Regions from separate parts of the Homo sapiens genome. Here region 1 is linked to region 2. Evidence: promoter capture Hi-C in human tissues and cell types (Jung and others, 2019). All regions are on one chromosome and are shown on one strand. The core of a region is centred on a gene start or on the middle of the fragment in contact, and the rest is flanking DNA. Distances in the headings are between cores, read along the strand shown. Region 1 overlaps LOC400499 (putative uncharacterized protein LOC400499). Region 2 holds the start of SNN (stannin).

Region 1 (6,370 bases), core at 704-3,203, 260 kb after region 2:
GAGTCGGGGGAGGAACCATTGACTGGGTACCTGCTGTGCACCATCGCTGGACACAGCACCTCTCAATTCTCTGCTCAGCACTGCTGCATAAACAAGGGCAGGGAGGCTCAGAGAGGCCAAGTAACTTTTCCAAGGTCACACAGCTATAAAAATCCCTCATCCTCTCCAGGCAGGGCACTGATGAGTTCTCAGTCTCAGAAACTAAGTGCATCCAAGGCCCCAAACACTTATTAATAACTATTACTGCCCTTAGGCCTGGGGGCCTGGTGAGGCGCTTGGTGCTCTTACGTGTGCAGTAAGTCAGGGGCCACCAGCCAGGCTCTAGCCCTCAGGTCTCAGCAGTGAGGGAGGGGGTGAGTAAGCCACTTGTTGAAGGGGTAGACCAGTGGTTCTCACCTAGGGGCGAGTTTCCCCCCAGGGACTTTCAGCAAAGTCTGGGGAATTTCTGGTTGCTACAGTGGGGAGGAGGACACTGTGAGAGTCAGTGTATAGAGGCCACGGATGCTGCTAAGCATCTTACAGTGCCTAGGACACACCCACGACTGTGAAGGCCAGGAGTCAAGATGTCAGCTGTGCCAAGGCTGAGACATGGAGGTGGAGAGGAACCTGACAAGAGGGTGTAGCACCCTGGAGTTAGCAACAGGGGAGAGAGGCCTGGCACAGCGGCTCACACCTGTAATCCCAGTGCTTTGGGAGGTCGAGGTGGGAGGATTGCTTAAGCCCAGAAGCTCGAGGCCAACCTGGGCAACATAGTGAGATCCCCATCGCTACAAAAAATCTTAAAAATGAGCCTGGTATGGTGACGCATGCTTGTAGTCCCAGCTGCTCAGGAGGGTGAGGCAGGAGGATCACTTGAGTCTGGGAGATCGAAGCTGCAGTGAGCAGAGATGGCACCACTGCACTCCAGCCTGGGTGACAGAGAAAGACCCTGTCTCTAGTGAAGAAGGAAAAAAAAAAAAAGAAAAAGAGAAAAACGTGGAGATTGTAACCACCCTGGCCTGGAGGAGTGAGGGGAGGGGTGCTATGTGAGGAGGATCCCTGGGAGGGAGTCAGGGGGTTAAAATCCTGCTGTCCAGACCCTGCTGGGACTCCCATGGGACCAACCCAAGAAAGCTCATTGATGGACTCATGGAAGACTTGAAGCCCAGAGCCATGTTTAACCCTTGATACCAATGGGGAAACTGAGGCTCAGGGGAAGCTGAGGCTCAGAGAGGGACAACCAAGAAGCTTGCTCCTGGTGCCAGAGCTAGGCAGAGGCCAAGCCAGGACTCAAATCTAGGTAACTTGGCTCCAGAGTCCAGCCCTAACCAGGGCACCGTATGGCCCTTGGGCCTCGGGGTGTGTGAATAGCCCTGAACTGGGCCACTGATGTGATCCTGGCTCTCTGACTCTCTCTCGGGGAAGTCCCCTTGGTCTCGACATGGCCCTGGGGGCACTGGACAAGGTGCTGTCTTGCCAGCTTCAGGCCTTCTCTTTCCTTCCTTCTAGCAAAGAGCTGCTGTTCTCAGGCCGGCATCGCCTCCCCTTCCTCCTGGGTCTCTGCCCCAGCTCAGCCTCAGCCTCAGCTAAGGTAACTGTGCCCCAGCTGCCTGGCTCCTAACTGGTTCCAGATGCCCAGCCCGAGGCAGGAGGGGGCCAGGCCCCTCTGGGGAGTGTTAATACATGCACATCTGTTCACCAGCCTGCAGCAGGCTCCGGTGGGCAACCCTCGGAAACCCCTGGCTCCAGCTTTCCCAAACATACCCAGGTTTACATTCCTGGGCCAGCCCCCGTGGCCCCCAGTCAGGCTCACAAGCCCTTTGGGAGATGGGGGAGGCCTCCTCACCCAGTGCCTGGCGCCTGGCATTGCCTCACCCAGCCTGGCACACTTGTAGAAGCTGGAGCAGATGACACAGCCCTTTGGAGCTGAGCCAGCGTCACCCCCATCTCTGCCCTGCATGCAGGACTTGAGGGGTCGTAGGAGTGCACAGGAGGGCCCAGTAGTCTTAGGCCAGGTTCCTCTGTCCCTCTGAGCTGTCATTGTCTGTGCCCAGATCCGGAGCTCCTGGAGGGCATGCCTAGTGCCTGGCACAGGGCCCAGCACACAGTAGTTGTTTAGTAAAAAAAATAGGGCATGAATAGGTGAGTGCATGCATGAATGGTTACATCTGTAACTAGTCACTTCATTTTCCTACCAGCCACCATGTTTTGGTAGGCACCCTCCCAGCCCTGGCCCAGGCCACCTTTGTCTACAGAGCATGCGCTATGTGCTGGGTCCCCTGCCGCATTTACACGTGATTTTGGAGTTCCTCAAACTTCGCTCCAACTGCACAGTCATTCAGGGAACTTCTTTATTTATTTATTTAATTTTTAAATTTTTTTTGAGACACAGTCTCTCTTTGTCACCCAGGCTGGAGTGCAGTGGCACAATTTCGGCTCACTGCAACCTCCGCCTCCCCGGTTCAAGCGATTCTCCTGCCCCAGCCTCCTGAGTAGCTGGAATGACAGGCGTGCGCCACCACGCCTGGCTAATTTTTGTATTTTTGGTAGAGACAGGGTTTCACCGTGATATCCAGGCTGGTCGCAAACTCCTGACCTTAAATGATCCACCCACCTCGGCCTCCCAAAGTGTTGGGATTACAGGCGTGAGCCACTGCGCCCAGCCTTATTTTTTGTTTTTAGAATGTCTTTTTGAGACAGGGTCTTGCTCTGTCACCCAGGTTGGAGTGTGGTGACGTGATCATAGCTCACTGCAGCCTCAAACTCCTGGGTGCAAGTGATCCTCCTGCCTCAGCCTCTGGAGTAGCTGGGACTACAGGTGGTACCACCACACCTGGCTCCATTCCGGGAGCTTCTTAGTTTTTTCCCAAGTTTTATTTTGAGTTATTTCAACCTATATAAAAGCTACTGTAGGACAGTGAACATTGACCAATTGTTAATATCTTTCCATCTTTCTTATCTGTTACATAAATTTGTATCATCACACATTTTTTCTGTATCATTAAGAATTAATATAGAGACGTTTCTGAAGACATCAACTTTTTACTCTGAAATACTTCAACTATTTCCTGTAACAAGGATATTTTCTGATTTAACACGGTAATTACAACATTCCAGAAACTGAACGTTGAATTAATACCTTCATTTAATGTACAGCCCATATACAATTTCCCAGCTTTCCCACTAATGTTCTTTCAAAAAACTGTTTTGTTTTGTTTTAAATCCGGGATGCAGGCCAAGATCACGCAGCATTCGTAGTTGCCATGTCTTTTTAATTTTCTTAATCTAGAACAGAGGTCTACAAACTTTTATTGTAAAGTAAAATGTTGTGGGGGTTGCAGGCCTTATGGTCCCTGTTACAACTACTCAGAATTGTCACTGTAACACAAAAGCAGCTATAGACGATATGTAAGTGAATAGACATGGCTGTTACAATAAAACTTTTTATAAAATCAGGTTGTGGGCCAAATTTGACCCAAAAGCCAACTCCTGATCTAGAATATTTTCCTTCTACACCCTACCCTTCCTTACCCAATGTTTTATTTTTTTATTTTTTTATTTATTTTTTCTTTTTTTGAGATGAAGTTTCACTCTGTCACCCACGCTGGAGTGCAGAGGCGTGATCTCGACTCACCGCAACCTCCGCCACCTGGGCTTATGCAATTCTCCTGCCTCAGCCTCCTGAGTAGCTGGGATTACAGGCATGCACTACCATGCCTGGCTAATTTTTGTATTTTTGGTAGAGATGGGGTTTCGCCACGTTGGCCGGGCTGGTCTTGAACTCCTGACCTCAAATGATCTGCCCACCTCAGCCTCCCAAAGTGCTGGGATTACAGGCATGAGTCACTGCATCTGGCCCCCCAACATTTTATTATACAATTTTTTAGACACTAAAAAATTGAAGTAATTTTACAGTGCATACCCACATACTAGATTTTCCTGTTTACATTTTATTTCACATAATCACATAGCTCTCTATCCATCCATCTTATTTTTGGATACATTTCAAAGTAAGTTGCAGATATAATTCCCCCTAAACATTTTATTGTCATTAACCACCTTCAGAAAAGTCCCAACTGGATGCAGTGGTTCACACTCATAATCACAACACTTTGGGAGGCCAAGGAAGGAGAATTGTTAGAGTTCAGGAGTTCAAAACAGCCTGCAACCTAGGGAGACCCCATTGCTACAGAAAATTTAAAAATCAGCCAGGCATGGTGGTGTGTACCTGTATCTCAGCTACCAGGGAGGCTGAGGTATGGAAGAATTGCTTGAGCCCAGGAGGTTGAGGCTGCAGTAAGCTGTGTTCACACCACTGCACACTCTAGCCTGGATGACAGAGCAGACAGACCCTGTCTCTGTCTAAAAAAAAAAAAAAAAAAAAATCCTGCACTGACAATTTTGAAGTGTCCAGGAAGTTATTTTGCAAAACATCCTCCTAATGTGGATTTGTCCGATTGTTTCTTGAAGATAAGATTCAGGCTGAACATTTTTGACAAGGGGTATCACTAACGAAATGACGCCTCTAGTGAGCGCGTTAAAAATACCAGCTCTTGGCTGGGTGCGGTAGCTCACACCCGTAATCCAGCACTTTGGGAGGCCGAGGTGGGCAGGTCACCTGAGGTCAGGAGTTCGAGACTGGCCTGGCCAACATGGCGAAACCCCATCTCTACTAAAAATACAAAAATTAGTTGGGTGTGGTGGTACATGCCTGTAATCTTGGTTACTCAGGAGGCTGAGGCAGAAGAATCACTTGAACCCAGGAGGCAGAGGTTGCAGTGAGCCGAGATCGTGCCACTGCACTTCAGCAGCCTGGGCAACAGAGCAAGACTCCTTCTCAAAAAAAAAAAAAAAAAAAAAAAAAAACAGCTCTGGAACATCTTCCCAGAGACTCCATTTTTGTAGGTTTTAAGTGGGAGCCCAGAATCTGTATTTTTAATAAGTTCCCCCGCAGTGATTCTGCTTTTCAGCCAACCTGGAAGTTAGCACATTATTTCATACAATTTTCGCAGCAACCCGTAATAAAATAGGTGTCCTTATCCCTGTTTTTGGATTAGAAGGCTTGGGTGGTTAAGGAACTAGCTGGAGATCACTCACCTCTCAGTGGTAGATCCACACTTGGAGTTCTGTTGTGTTTGATGCTGACACGCACCCAGGCATAATTCTTTCTGCTAGACTGCCCCCTGCTGTCTGCAACAGTACTACAACTAGAATTCTTGGCTGCTGGTGCCAGGCTGGTAGATATTTTCAAGTCAATGTTATAGCAGGGAGGGCATGAAGGAGATAGTTGCCATGGCCACGCTTGATGGCCTAACCTGAGGCTCCAAACCCTCGCATCATCAAACTTCATCCAGCCCAGGGAGTTGTGGGTCTCTTGGGCCTGGGACTTTGGGAGGCAGAGCCCTCGGCCTACAGCCAGCATCTCCTGGAATGTTCCATCAGAGCCCTGATGAGGAGCTTTATCGTGTTTTGTGGTGGTTTTTTTTTTTTCTGACCCAGCTACACTACTCCAAGGGTGAGGTTCAGAGCATGTTCGCCTTGGGCGTGGAGGAGCGTCATTTTCACATCAGCACCCGGCAGGTAGCTGCTAAGGCCGGTCTCAACAATTTCATCAAACTGGAACAGACCTTTCTGCAGGTGTGTGGAGGTCAGCCCAGGGCCGGAGCACGCTGGGGTGGGGGGCCTCTGGGACAGCCCTTTGAGAAAAGAAAAATTGTCCTAGTGTCCCGGTTCCTGGGCGGAAGGACAGACAAGGCTGTGAAATGGACACAATGTGCTGGATTTATTGAGCTGGATTTATTGCATGATTTATGGAGCATCTACTAGGTGCCAGGCACTATTTCAGAAGCTGGGGCGTGACCTAAAACAGATCTGATCAATCCTTCCTCTCATCAAGTGTCCACTCTAGCGGGGGAGATTGACTCCCCGAAATCACACAAACGAAATATGCCAGATAGTACTATGATACGGAGAAAACGTACTGAAGTGACTGAGAGTGACCAAGGAGCTTATTTAGATTAGGTGGCCAGGAAAGGCCCCACTGAAGAGACGACACATGAGCTAGCGGTGGATGATAAGCACCAGCCATTTGAAAATCCGGGGGAAGGCCGGGCACGGTGGCTCGCGCCTGTAATCCCAGCACTTTGGGAGGCCGAGGCGGGTGGATGACCTGAGGTGAGGAGTTCGAGACCAGCACGGCCAACATGGGGAAACCCCGTCTCTACTAAAAATATGGAATTAGCCAGGCGTGGTGGCACATGCCTATAATCCCAGCTACTTTGGAGGCTGAGGCAGGAGAATTGCTTGAACCCAGGATGTGGAGGTTGCAGTGAGCCGAGATTGCGCCGTTGCACTGCGGCCTGGGTGACAAGAGTGAAACTCCATCTCAAAA
Region 2 (7,129 bases), core at 1,748-4,247:
AGCAGAGCCAAGGGGTCTTCCAAGTGCAGAGGGGCCAGGACCCAGAGCACAGCCTGGGCCTTCCATCTCTGGGCAGGCTGGAGTGTCCCCTCTGCCTGGCATTTGAAGCCCAAGGCCATCTGGATCCCCCAAACACACACCCTCCTGCTCCATGTGCCTTCAGTCTTGCCATCCTCTGCCAAGGGGGTCCTGACTCTCGGATCCCACCCACCCACTATAAAAGCAAGATCCAAGGCCCAGGCTCTCCAGAACCCCCTGCCCCAGCATCCTCAAACAACCCCAAAGGAGGTCAACTGCAGCACAGGACACACTCTGTCTCCCGGCAGAGCCCACACATGTCCCAAGGAATAACAACTGCAAGACAAGCCTGAGCCATGCCAGGTGAGCGGGGGCCTGCACCGCCCTTGGCCACTCCTCCCCAGCAGCCCAAGCTTGCAGGTGTTACTGACACTGTCCTGCCGGGTTTGCCAAGGCCCACAGAGATCCGTAACTGGGACCCAAGGAGCATGGGGGCAGAGCCGGGGGTGAACCCCACCCCGTCAGAGCCATTCAAATGGACAGTCCCTGCCCCAGCTACCAGAGAGGGGACGGGTATCCTCCTGTCCTGCTCTCCCTCCCAGGACCCCGGCTTGTCTGAGCCTGATCCCACTCCAGAGGCCACTCCATGTGCTCTAGGCCCGGGGGGCCCACAGACCGCAGTAGAGCAGGCTGGAGTCCCCTCCATCCTCCCAGACCAGCACTCACTTTTGCGGCCTGCTTCCGCCCAGCCAAGCAAGCTGCTCCTCTTGGCCTCAGTTTCTCAATGCGCAAAGCGGATACGAGTCCCTGACCTCATCTACCAGGTCGTGGGGAGGATGAGAAGTGGTAAGAAAAGTGAAAACAAAAGGGACATGAGGTCACCAGGTTTGCATGTCACCAGCCACACCTTCCTGTGTGCTACAGCAGGGACAAAGGGAGAACACTGAGCCCGAGGGATCCCCAAGCCCACCCCCAGGGCCAGAAGGGCACAGAGCCTGGCCCAGGCCCAGTGCCACAAACACCCCTTCCCCAGGGACACGCTGCCTCCTCCTAACTCAACCGGGCACATCATGAGCATTGCCGGGCTCACCACCAGCAAAACACCCCCGCCTTGCAGCCGCCACCTCCTGAGGCTCCTTGACAGACGCCAGGAGGGCTGCCCTGCTTACAGGGGACCAGCCATCCCTACGGGGCTTTCAGTACTGCCTCCCCCCATAAAGCCACCTGCCAAGGGTGCCAACAAACTCTTCAGCGAACCCCGGGTCACAAACCAGAAACGTTTCCTGCCCCAGGTTCTGACTGGGAAAACAGGGTTGTAGGGAGAAGAGGGCACTGCTGGACACAGCCAGGACGAGGCGGGACGTCCGTTCTGCCCTGGGCCTCCAGCAGCCAGTGGGACACAAGGACGCATCACACAAGGCCCCAGCCCTCCAGAAGCCAGGACCAAGAACGGCCGGATGCCAGTGGGACTGACACTGATGGGGCTGTGCCCAGCTCTCTGGCCAGTGTTATCTCATCCTCCACCCCCACCCATGACACCCCCATCCTCAGAAGAGGAAACTCGCTCCAGAATCCCCTAGGTTCCCCAGTGGCAAAAGAGGAAGCGGGAGCCCGCAGAGCTCTGAACCGGGACTGCCCCAAGGTCAGTCGGGGTCTTCCTCGGGCCAGGCCAGAGGCTCATGCCCCCACCCTGTGAATCACCCGCTGGTCATTTTCACAGGCTGCCCCAGGGTTGGCCTGTTTGGCCAAACAACTTTGCTTGTAGATGCCGGAGAAAGTTGGTGGCAATTATATGTGCCAGACACTGAGATAAACAGCTCACGCAGATGTCTCCTTTCTGCCTCAAGACAACAGGGCAGTTGAGCTATTACTGTTCCCTCTTGGCAGATACAGAAATTGGTGGCTCAGAGAAGTTAAGTCCATTGCCCAAGGTCACACAGCTCAAAAGTAGACGCGCAGGGATTCAAACCCAGGCAACCTGCATCCAAAATCCCGCATTTCGACCCTGACTCTAAAATGCCACATTCTCCCTACCTCCTCTCCCGCGTGCCTGAGGGGCCGCGGACAGGTGAACCCCAGTGTGGCCCTCGCTGGGGCGGGCTGGGCGACCTGGGCTGGGTGCTGGGGACTTAGGGGTGACAGCGCCCCGGCGGCTCCCGAGTGCTGAGCGCGGGCGGCGTGGCAGGCGCGGTGCCAGGCGCGCTCCGCGCACCCTCCCGTTCCACCCTGCCCGGCGGCGCCGGCGTCTCCCCCACTCCACGGAGGAGCAAAGCGAGGCTCCAGGGAGGAGGGGGCTCGGCCCAGGGGGCGACAGCTGGAGAGGGGACGGCAGCTGGGGAGGTAGCTCGAATCGGCCCGACGGAGGCGGGGTGTGGGACGGGGACCAGGGGAGCTAGGCATGCCCACGCCGCGCAGCCGCTGCCCACGGAACCGGGCGCCGAACGCTGCGGCCCGGCCTCAGTTTCCCTACCCGCGAGACGGGCGCCGGACGTCACCTGGACCCCTATCCCCGGAGCCCTCCCCGGAGCTCCCAGAATTTTGAAGAACCCCGAAATGCCGGGGGAAGGCGGGAGCGTAGCTGAGGACGGGCGGGGGCTGCACGGGCGGGGGCGAGCGCCCCGCGATCCCCACAAAGCGGCCTCCGCCCCCCGCCGCCTCCTTTGTCCGGATCTCGCCGCAGCGCCGCTGACAAAGAACCCCAGCCCGCGGGCGCGGCCCCTGGAACGGACCCTCCCCCGAGCCGCGCCCGCCGGGCCGCCCCTCCCCCGCCCGCAGACCCCGGCCCGGCCCCGCCGCCGCGCGCGCCCCTCCTCGTCCTGGCCTCCCCCTTCCCGCCCCCGGGCCCCGGCGCCCCCGCCCGGCCCGAGCGCGCGGCCTGCCCCGCCCGGCTCACCATGGCGCGGCAGCGGCCCGGCCCGATCGCCCCGCAGCAGCCCCGCGGGCCCGGCTCCGCCCGCCCGGTCCGGCCGCCGCGCACTCGGGACGCAGGAGCCCCGCGCTGCGGCGGGCGGGGCCCGGCTCCTCCCCGGCTGGGGACGGGGCCTCCCAGAAAGGCCAATGGGAGCCCGCGCTGGGACGGCGGGGCGGGGCGGGCCGGGGCGGAGTCACGTGTGCTCGGGGCCGGCAGGCGGTGGGGCGGGGGCTGCGCGCGGCGGGCGGGCTCGGCCCTGGCGAGCGCGGATTGGGCGCCCGTGGGTACGGGGCCCCACTACAGGCGCCCTTCCTCTGCCAGCCTCATCCTGACCCCGGCAGGCTGCCTTGGTCCCGCCTGCTTACAGCGGAGGAAACTGAGGCACGCTGCACGGAAGAGTGCTGCATACTCCTCGAGAGCTGAGAGCGGCGGGGAATCCGGGGCAGGGGCAGGGGAGAGGCGCGACCGCTGAGGTGAATGACCTTGCTTCGGGAGGAAGCTGGGCATCAGTCGTTCGCGAATTCATTTATGTATCATTCATCCGCCCAGTCAGTCGATGGCGGAACACTGACCACGTGCCTGCCACGCCAGTCGTCGTGGGAGCAGCCACGAGCCAGACAAGGTCCCGGCCCTGACGAAGCTCTCATTCCTCTGCGGGATGAGGCTGTGAGGCATTTGCACCCCTCTGCCACCTATAATCATAGTTATTTTTAGCATAATTACCCGGTGGTTTGGCCCCCACCAAATGCCTGCCCTGTATAAACAGCCCAACACATTTTATTAAGATGACTCCGGAAGAAAGAATCTTCCCATTTTACAGATGAGGAACCTGAGGCTCCAAAGAGCTGAAGTCCCACAGCCTGCTCCTGATGGAGAGAGGGTTTTGAGGCCAGGCCTGTCTACCTGGGAAGACAGAGGCTCCAGTTATTGGAGTAATCTCCACTCATCCACCCCAAGAAGGCCATCGGCGAGAGGACACCCCAGCCCTGGGGCCCACAGAAGGGGTGAGGGTGGGTCCCTCAAGGCTTCTGTGGCCCAGGGGACTTGAGAAGACAGGAGGGGGCAGGGCGAGCTGGGACCTCCTCCTGGGAACGGGGGCCTTATTTGCTGGAAACTTCTTTCCCATTCTCAAGCAGAAGCCTCTGGAAGAGCATGGCGGGTTGGGCTCACGAGGCTGAGGTGGCCAGGCCCTCACTCCCTCCACTCAGCCTCGCTGGGCTTTCTTCCCTGCGCCCAGTGCACCAAGCCTTTCCCACCGCCAGGCCTTTGCCTATGTGGCTCCCTGCAGCTGGAACTCTTCTACTTCATCTTCCCGATCTCAGCTTAAGTGCCCCTTCCTCAGGAGGGCCCTCCCTGATCGCCCAGCCAAGAGTAGCTCCCTTGGGGTTTTTTGTTTTGTTTTTGAGACGGGGTCTTGGTCTGTCACTCAGGCTGGAGTACAGTGGTGCAATCACAGCTCACTACAGCCTCCATCCAACTCCTTCCTGGGCTCAAGCCATCGTCCCACTCAGCCTATATCTATGAATGTGGGCAGATTTGACGAAGCAATTTTTTTTCTTTTTTTTAGAGAGAAGGTCTTGCTCTGTCGCCCAGGCTGGAGTACAGTGGTGCAATCATAGGTCACTGTAACCTGGGCTCAAGCGATCCTCCTACCTCAGCCTCCCAGGTAGCTGAGACTACAGGTGCATGCCACCATGCCCGGCTAATTTTTTAATTTTTTGTAGAGATAGGGTCTCTTGTTGTTGCCTGAGCTGGTCTCAAACTCCTGGGTGATCCTCCTGCCCCGGCCTCCCAAAGTGCTGGGATTATAGGCTTGAGCCACCATGCCCAGCCTACCCATTGTGAAATTGTACATTTTTGACATTGTGTGATGAACTTTTGGTCTTCTCTCCCAGGACTAGGTGTATTGCACTCACTGCTGTGTCTACAGAACAGTGCCTGCCACACAGTGGGTGCTGAATACATGGATGTTGAATGAATGAATGATCGGACTGCAGAACTCCAGGGCGGGTTCAGCGGCAGCCTAGTCAGGAAGCCAGGCACAGGAGGTGAGCTGGGAGTTGCGCAGGAAGGGAGGACAGAAAGGCAGAGGAGAGCCCAGCTTCAGCCAGCTGCCCCACAGGCCAAAGCCGGGCATCTCAGAACAGCTCCGCCCCCACATCTGCCCAAATCCTGCCCCATCAGCCACACCTAGGAGCCCAGAATGGAAGGAAATAGGTTCTTCCCACAAAGCCAGTTCCAGCAGCCTTTGTGGTCCCCGCCTCAAGTTGGCAGAGACTTCATTAGTGGTGAGGACCTGGGAGGGGCAGGCTAAGAACCCCAGAGCCAGGACTGGCAACACGATGACAGGGGAGGCAGGGACACTTAGAGGGGAAAGATTCTTGGGGGAAAATGGTGAGGGAGATTCAGCATGGCATAGAAGCTGGGAGTCAGATTGCCAGATTCCAGGCTTTCCTGCTGGGTGGTTTTGGAAAAACAGCCGAACGTTTCTGTGCCTCAGTTTTTTCGTCTGAGAAATGGAGATGAGGCCGGGTGCGGTGGCTCACACCTGTAATCTCAGCACTTTGGGGAATGCCAAGGCAGGGGGATGGCTTGAGCTCAGGAGTTTGAGAACAGCCCTGGAAATGTAGTGAGACTCCTATCTCTAAAAAAGAAAAGTTAGCTGGCCGTGGCGTTGTGCGCCTGTACTCCCGGGTACTGGGGAGGCTGAAGTAGGAGGATTGCTTGAGCCTGGGAGGTTGAGGCTGCAGTGAGCTGTGATCACACCGTTGCACTCCAGCTTGGGTGACAGTGAGCCCTGTCTCAAAATAAATAAAATAAAATAAAATATACAGCTTCTGACCCACTAGGTCTGAGCCCCAAATCCTGCATTTTTCAAAAGTTCCCGAGTGGTGCTGATGATTCAGGGACAGACTTTGAGCAGCAAGGGCGAGTTCACTTGCTGAAAGTCACAAGGTAGTGGGCTCCAAGCCTGCACTGGAGCCCATGAGATGGGCTACAGGATCCTGCGCTTAACTGCGACCCTAACTGCTTGCTGCAGCCCCACCTTTCTCTCCCCAACAAAGAGGAGGCAGGAAGTATCGCGCCCCTCCCCCAAGCCCATTTCCTCTACCTCCCTCCGTAGTGACATCTGGCCTCACGTCCCCGGGGTTCGTCCTTACAGAATGGGATGGAGGTTCTCAGATGCTCATTAGCCAGGAGGATAATTGAGGGCTTGGGATGAGCTCACCCCAGCTCCCTGGGGCTTGCTGGGGTCCAGCTGGTGTGCCCTGTACCAGCCTGGCCCTCTGCCCACTCCCCCAGCCGCTATAAGGGCTGGGACAAGGAAGGGGGTTGCTCGGCGGGGTGGAGAGGCCTCAGCCTCAAGGGAGACTCTACAGCTGGGACTCCCTGCTCGGGTGGGCGGGCCTCTGCTCCTGGGGCATCTCTATAAGGGATCCAGGCCTGAGAACAAAATGAAAACTGCGTGGCCAGAGGGGATTTTTCCTGAAGGGTGAGATGTGAACCACTGGTGAGGTCTGCAGGGTGAGGTTAGGTGGAAGGCAGAGAGGGCATCACTCACCTCTGAAACCCATAGCAGCTCCCCATTCTAGGGGCAAGGCCTCCTTTGCTGCTAGTGTGGCCTGAGCATCTCTGTAAGGCTGGCTCAGCCCCCTTATGTCCAGGAGAGAGCACAGACCTCAGGCTCAGAATCCCGGGCAGTTGACACTCTGCAGCTAGAACTGAATGATGTGTGGGTTTCTGTGTGTGTATGTTTTAGTTACCTTCTGTGTATGATGTGGGTATTGTGTTTCTGTGTATGGTAATGACATACCCATTGCTTTTTATTTCTTATTTTCTTTGTTTTTGAGGCAGGGTCTTGATTTTTTCACTCAGGCTGGAGTCCAGTGGCACAATCACTGCTTACTGCAGCCTTGACCTCCCCGGATTCTCCCACCTCAGCCTCCTAAGTAGCTAGGACCACAGGTTTGTGTGACCCCACTCAGCTTTTTGTTTTGTTTTGTTTTTGTTTGAGACAGGATCTCACTCTGTCACCCAGGCTGGAATGCAATGGCGTGATCTTGGCTCACTGCAACCTCTGCCATCTAGGCTCAAACAATCCTACCGTCTCAGCCTCCCGAGTAGCTGGGACTACAGATGTACCACCACACTGGGCTAATTTTATTATTATTATTTTCTCTTTCCTTCCTTCCTTCCTTT

What was found. Contacts are between HindIII fragments. The study calls those that stand out against the background at their distance.
Region 1: a fragment that was not itself captured here is called in contact with the fragment with the promoter of SNN in region 2 in 2 of the 25 tissues and cell types used here (lymphoblastoid cells and small bowel).

What each region holds. Positions count from the first base shown.
Region 1 is chr16:11,406,446-11,412,815 of GRCh38, reverse strand. LOC400499 (putative uncharacterized protein LOC400499) reads left to right here. Exons shown (of 67, transcript NM_001370704.1): 46 at 1,489-1,570; 47 at 5,479-5,616. Among named protein-coding and RNA genes, the nearest start is that of RMI2, 64 kb to the right of the region's middle. The HindIII fragment of the contact is 4,647 bases long and covers 1-4,276 here.
Region 2 is chr16:11,664,323-11,671,451 of GRCh38, reverse strand. SNN (stannin) reads right to left here and starts at 2,997. Exons shown (of 2, transcript NM_003498.6): 1 at 2,912-2,997. RefSeq lists an enhancer at 1,698-1,797 and a silencer at 2,905-3,324. The HindIII fragment of the contact is 16,457 bases long and covers 1-7,129 here.